Linked DNA regions of Homo sapiens: region 2 is linked to region 1. The links are contacts of gene promoters, found by promoter capture Hi-C in blood cells and fetal thymus (Javierre and others, 2016). All regions are on one chromosome and are shown on one strand. Each heading gives the region's core, a stretch centred on a gene start or on the middle of the fragment in contact. The rest is flanking DNA. Distances are from core to core; before and after follow the strand shown. Region 1 holds the start of PAK6-AS1 (PAK6 antisense RNA 1). Region 2 overlaps LOC105370941 (a long non-coding RNA gene).

Region 1 (3,172 bases), core at 311-2,810:
CTATTAGGTGGGCGCCTTAGAGTAAATTGTGTGAAACCAATACAGCCTATAATGCAAAAGATTGAGCCGTGAGTAGATTGATGCGTCTAAAGAATCAGTGAACAAAAATAAGTGGCCATAGTGACCTCAGTTAATCATTGAAGTCTGAGGTGCCCAACAATGATTTTTAAAATCCCTGCACTGTCCTTGGTCCCCGCTCTGTGACACTGGCAGTCACCCAGCCACCACTTGACGGCAGCCATTTGGAGTCCACATGTACTGAGTTTCCAAGCCAGAACTTCCTCAGCACTCAGCCAGAACACAGCCTTTCTCTGGGGGCCCAAGACAAGGAGAGCAAAGGTCTTCTCACTTCTTTATCTGGGGAAGAGATGAGTGATTCCTGTCCCTTCCCCCAGTATAGAAAACACCCTGTACCCCAAAAGAAACATGGCACAGGGGCAGCCAGGAGTGAGCCCCTTGGAATGGCCATTCTGATCTTAGGCAGGGACTGCTGAGGACAAGCAGAGGATGCCGACTCTGGGACAAAATCACAGGCGGAGGGGCTCCGAAACAGGCCCTAGCCGCTCTGGGGGTGCGGGTCTCCTGCCCTAGGACTCTCAGGCTAGAAAGTCCTCAGGACTCAGGACTGCGCAAGGGCTGACAAGGGAACTGGAATCCCTTAAATCCCGCTTTCCTGCCTGCGCAAGGGGCTACCCCAGCACAGTCTTGGGGCCCTGTCCACATGGGACAGATCATCCAAGGTGACAGGTTTTCCGACTCCCGCGTGGGCTCTCCAGGATGTGTGGGTGGGCACACGCGGCCCGCTCAGGTCCGGGAGAGTCGGCCCGCGGCTCTGGAGCGTGCATCTGCGATGCCAGTGAACGAGGTGATTACACACAGCCGGCGCTCAGCTGATTCTCCAGGTCGGGTCTCCGCGAGGCGGCCACTGGGCCGTGGAGCCGCAGGCAGGTCCCCGCGGCTGTGGCCAGGCCAGGGCCCGGAGGCGAAGGGCGGGCGGGAACTGGGGCCAAGCAGGTGGAGAGAAAGAGTTGAGCAGCACGGCGCCCCTCGGGCAGAGGGGCTCCTGGCCAAGGCCCCAGCGACACTTGGCAACTTCTCCCGCGCTCTGGGTTCGCCGCCGCGTCCTACCTGAGGCCACACCCTGAAATCAAAATCGCGGTCAGGTGAAGCCGGCGCTGCACCAACGTGTAAGCGCGGCCCCTCCTCGGCGTTCCCGCGCCGAGGTCCCTCCCGCGGAGGGCGGGCCCGGCTCCCACGACCTCTTCGAGCGTTCCTGGGCTTCCCGCTCCGCAGGTGGGTTCCCCGGCTGCCCCGGAGGTTCGCGGCGAGAGGACGGGCCTCCCAACACGCGCAGCCCCCTTCCTGGGTGCCCATGCCCCGAAGTTCGGGACCAGCCGGCGCCAGGCGAGGGGCCTTGGGCGCAGGCATCTGGAGCTCCGCGTCCCTGGAGCGGGACCTCCCTCCGCGGGCGCCCGCCCGGCGCGGGGCATTCGCGTCCCCGAGAGGGCGCAGCAGTGGGGCCTGCGAGCTGGGGCCGGGTGGCCGCGCCGGGTCGGAGTGTGGCTGGAGAGGGGCCGCCCCGGAAGCGGTGCTGCGCCCAACGTCCCCTTCTCCCCGTAAGCCCCGCAAGGAGCCTGCCGCCTCTTGCACCTGAGCCAGGAGTTCAGTCGGGAGGCGGGCGCGGAGCGGTTCCCAGCGCCTGGACGTCAGCCAGTCGCAACACCCGCGGGAACACTTGCTACATTTGCCATAATGCATTTCTGATCTGTTTCCGCGCAGGCCTGCGGAGGACTGGCCCAGCAAGGTCCCAGGTCTTCCCTCTCCTCAGCGCCTAAGAGAGAGGCCCAGTGCGGGTGAGGAGTCGCGAGGAAGAGGCGGAAGGCGCCGGAAGGTGAGTGAGCGAGCGGCCCCCGGCCCTAGAGCCTTCTGCACCCATTTTGAAGAGCAGGCAGGGAGGGACAGTGGGCAGGCAGGTGGCCCTCCTGGGCTGGCTCCTTCCTGGTACTGCTAGGCAGCGGAGGTGGTCCCTTCCAGGTGCCGTCTCTCGATCCTTAGTGGGTGCATGTTAAGTCACTTACACCACTTTGCCCCATGGCCCCACGGTAGGCTGGTAGACGTCAAGACCTCAAATGGCCCGCCCTGCCCCCGGGCCCATCTTCAGGTCTGATGCCTGTCCTGGGTGAGGGTGTCACCGCGGCAGAGTGCAGGGAATTCATGCCGGGGAAGAGGTTCCCAAACAGGAAGGGTGGTGGCAGGCCCAGTGGCTGTGCAGGGCAGGGTGGGAGGCAGCCGTGGGAGACTCCCGCAGGAGTTACAGGTGAAGCTGCCGCTCCACACATCCCAGCCCACCGCTCATTCCCCAGATCTCCAGACCTGCTCAGGTGGCATCCGATCTGGAGTGTAGGTGCTGCTGGGAGCACTGGAGGCTAAGCCATGAAGAGCTCCCAGGGTGTAGGTTGCGTTTTCTGTATCTTGCCCCATTCTGGTGGTTTTTTGGGGGCTTTTCTGACTTGTTTTTCTGGGTGAAGGGGGCAGAGGGGCTCAGGTCTGTGTCCATGCTCGTTTTTGGTGGCCGGTGTGGCATAGGTTGCCGCATTGGATAAGAAAACGCCTGGTTCCATGCAAGGTGAGGTTCAGCCTGCAGTGCCATGAATTCTCCTCCATAGTATATAGGACAGTGGCCGAAGACACATTTGGAACCGAAGAGAGTGGGGTTTGAATCTATCCAGACTTTGCCTTTGACTCCTTAGACAAGTTGCTTCACTTCTCTACAAACTTATAAATGGCCTCATCTGTAAAATGGGAATGCGAATGCCTTCCTCCTCATTAGGCGGTTGTGGGGAGTAACTGCCTCATCAGCCTCCAGCTGCTATGTTGGGAAGGGCTAAGCCACTCCAAGTTCTCCCATCCTGGAGAGCTTTGAGGGCAGTCTGGCTGTTTGGCAAGCTATTGTCAGAGGGTATTAGAGCAAAGCAATAGGAATAAAGTAAAGGTAGGGGTCCTTGGAGGGCGAGTAGTGAGAGACCCTAATTCAGGGTCTCTGGACCTCGTGGTGACCCAGGGAAGGGGCCATTCCTGGAAGAGGATCTGGCTTGGGCATCAGAAACAGCAGCGCCCCCTGCACATCACACATGTTCATGTGTTCATGGGTGACCCTGGAACCTCAACTGTT
Region 2 (3,172 bases), core at 314-2,813, 470 kb before region 1:
CACCCTGTATAAAATAATTATCCCCATCTCCACACTCCCTACCCTCTGTCCCCTCAACCCTGCTTTATTTTTTTATGAAGAAGAGAGATGACATTATTTGGATTTTGATATTAAACAGCTAGGTTATCTTAGGTAAATACATAAGCTTTTGTGGGCCACAGTTTCTTCATTTGAAAAATGAAGTTGGACTAGTTTTGCAGTGCTTAACTGCACAGAGCATTAGAATCACCTGGGGAGACTTCATAAACTACACAACCAGGGGTGTACCTGAGATCAAATGAATCTAGGCCTTCTCAACTTTAATGTGCAGACAAATCACCGAGGAATCTTGTTAAAAATGCTGATTCAAAAAAAAAAATGTTGATTCAGTATCAGGTGAGACCTGAGACTAACAGGCTCCTAGATGATGCCAATGCTCCCCGTCCACCGACCGCTGTTTACCTAGCGGCAAGACGAGATCATTGCCAAGTGCCTGCACGGTTCTCATACACCATAAACGAAGGCCATTCTTTCCAGTTTTTAATTTGGTGACTAATAGTGTCCACTAAGAAAACAATACCTTCCCAATTTCTCGGGGGGGGAAGGGGCTGAACTAAGAAAAAGCGGACCTATGATTACTGCTGTTTTCATTTTTTTAACTGTTGTTTTTAAAATGCAACATAAGATGCATATAAAGCAAGTGAAAATAAAATTCGGGTTCCACGTAAACTTTGTGTCTCTTCACTGTTTGTAACCTTTCCAGACTAAGTCCCTATTGACTATATTTGCATAAAACTATTTATCTCATTTTGAATTGTTTTGTCTCTGTGTCACTCTCACGTGTTTATTTACCTCCTGCTGCTTCCATTTTGTAAACTGCCGAGAGGCTGTGTGTGCCTTAAGGGCCAGCTTTAATAAATTGCATTTGTTGTGTATTTGTTTTTAATTTCCCCAGATACTTCTGTGTCAGCTATTGCAGGTGACACCCTCAAAACAGCACGGGGATATAAGTCCGAGAGCACCAAATGTCTATACTGTGTTTTCTGCAGTTCCATTTTCAAAAATCGCAAACACATCCTGGAAAGTGTTGTGCCCTTCAAAGTCATTCATAAAAATTTCTTCTAGAGTCAAGATATTTGAAGCTAAAATTTCCCTGGTCTCATTCCAGGTTGGTGACATATGGCAGTGGCAGTGTTAGTTTCGGAGTTAGCTTTTGTTTTTGTTTGCAGTCTCTCCCTACTCTTGACATCCTCCTTCCGAGTGGAGTCAGATTTGAATGAATGAAAGCGAGCAAGAGCATTGTTTGCCATCTGGGCACCAACTACCATTTCAGCCTTGTTGCCCCGGTTGCCCTTTCCTCACCATAAACTTCAACCGAATGTAACAATATGGTAGGAGAGGGATCTCATTAAGCCTCATATCGTAGATTCTACACACTGGATTTTGTGTATAATAGCCATTCCTACTGGAGAGCAGATAATAGTGTTTACCACTGGATAGTTCCCATGTCCTGTGAATCTATGCTTAGTGTTATTGAAAAACTGCATTTACAAAGTGTTTCAGACTTGCCTTCCAAGCATCATTTCACTTCATTCATAACATTCTATGAGTCGGCACTAGTATTACCTGGATTTAGAGTTGAGAAGCAGAGCACCTAAAGGGTAAGTAATTGTCCCAAGGTCGTTGGGGAACTAACTGGCACCGGGATTCCAACCTAGGTTCCAAAGCCTGCCCTCCATCTCCTCAGGGGTCCGAATTCTAGAAGAGGAGATATTTGTGTCCACTAGATGGTGCTGATTGTCCTCTTAAAAAAAAAAATTGGCAGCCACTTTCAGAAACACGTTCCTTTGGATTTTAGGTGTAATTCAAGAAACCACTGAACTGAAGTATCTTGTATGTCTGAATTGTGCCTGGATGCATCTTTAAATAGCCACCCAAATAGGAAAAGTGAAAATTTGATCTCAAAAAAACTGCATTTTTTAAAATGTTAGTACCTATAAATAATATCAAAAAACCATGGTGACTTTGAGACTCTGAAAATTCTCATACATCTGTATTTACATTAAATCAGTAGACTTAAGAAGAAATACATGTTTTATTCCATGTACCCCTTTTATACCAACTGTACTCCCTCCAGCATCTCCCAATCCTGCTTGGCCACAATGCCATCCATGCCAGCAAGGGTCATGAACAGGGAAGTAAATAAAGCCTGAAAAAAACAACAATCAGATTCTGGAACAGGTAACACTTTTTTCTTTTTCTTTTTTTTTTTTTTTTTTGAGATAAAGTCATGCTCTTTCACCCAGGCTGGAGTGCAGTAGCACAATGATCATGGCTCACTGCAGCCTCAACTTCCCAGGTTCAAGCAACCTCCCACCTCAGCCTCATGAGTAGCTGGGACTACAGGCATGCAACACCATGCCCGGTTGAATTTTTTTTTTTTTTTTTGTAGAGGTGAGGTCTCCCTATGTTGCCCAGGCTTAATGCTATTATTATTGAAAGTAAAATACATGTTAAGTATATGTTTCATATGTGCTTAGTACCTTATTTTAGTACATTTTTTAGAACTTAAAAGCTGTGAAATAAACCCGATTCAAATGGGTTGTCAGATTTTGTTGTTGAGAAGGATCAGTTCAGGTGTTATTTAAAATATTGATTCTAGTCCCTATTACATGATTCAGTGGGTCTGGAATGCAGACCAGGAATCTGCATTTTTAACAAGTCCCTTGGTGCTTGTGGTACAGATGAACCACTGACTTCAAGTTAATGTTTTAGAGGGTAAATAGTGGTGAGGACATTGCTCCTGGAGGCACCATGGAGCCCCCTGCAGCTGTTCTACACGGAGGCTGTGAACAGTGACATCCAGCACTTCCTTTGTAAACAGCAGGCTAGAGACTGAAAAATGCTCTCCCTGTAGAACTCTTTCCCTCCTCTCCCTGTCTGCTGTGGAGTGCTGCACAGAATTAGCTGCTGGTCAGTGGATGTCTCCATTTTTTAAAAGATCAAGCTTACAACTTCTCAATGCCTATTGGTCCAAAAACAGTGATGACTTTAGGTTTGTTTTCAGTTAAAGAAGTTAGATCATGTATTGTCATATAACTATTCAACTGGCTCGAGCGATCCGAATGTCAACCTAGGGGGCCACAAACTTCCAGGACATTGTGAAATTGTGTAAAAATCAGTGCACACATAC

Evidence for each region. The method cuts DNA at HindIII sites, captures the fragments that hold promoters and counts their contacts. A CHiCAGO score of 5 or more calls a contact.
Region 2: a fragment that was not itself captured here is called in contact with the fragment with the promoter of PAK6-AS1 in region 1 in 4 of 17 cell types (total B cells, naive B cells, naive CD4 T cells and 1 more); the score reaches 11.7 in total B cells.

What each region holds. Positions count from the first base shown.
Region 1 is chr15:40,251,399-40,254,570 of GRCh38, forward strand. It overlaps PAK6-AS1 (PAK6 antisense RNA 1), which reads right to left and starts at 1,561. Exons shown (of 2, transcript NR_168270.1): 1 at 1,260-1,561; 2 at 1-1,141. It overlaps BUB1B-PAK6 (BUB1B-PAK6 readthrough), which reads left to right. Exons shown (of 10, transcript NM_001128629.3): 2 at 1,780-1,891. It overlaps PAK6 (p21 (RAC1) activated kinase 6), which reads left to right. Exons shown (of 11, transcript NM_001395430.1): 3 at 1,780-1,891. RefSeq lists a silencer at 1,543-1,632. The HindIII fragment of the contact is 18,506 bases long and covers 1-3,172 here.
Region 2 is chr15:39,784,910-39,788,081 of GRCh38, forward strand. It overlaps LOC105370941 (a long non-coding RNA gene), which reads left to right. Exons shown (of 1, transcript NR_135665.1): 1 at 1-708. Among named protein-coding and RNA genes, the nearest start is that of FSIP1, 3.7 kb to the left of the region's middle. The HindIII fragment of the contact is 2,841 bases long and covers 144-2,984 here.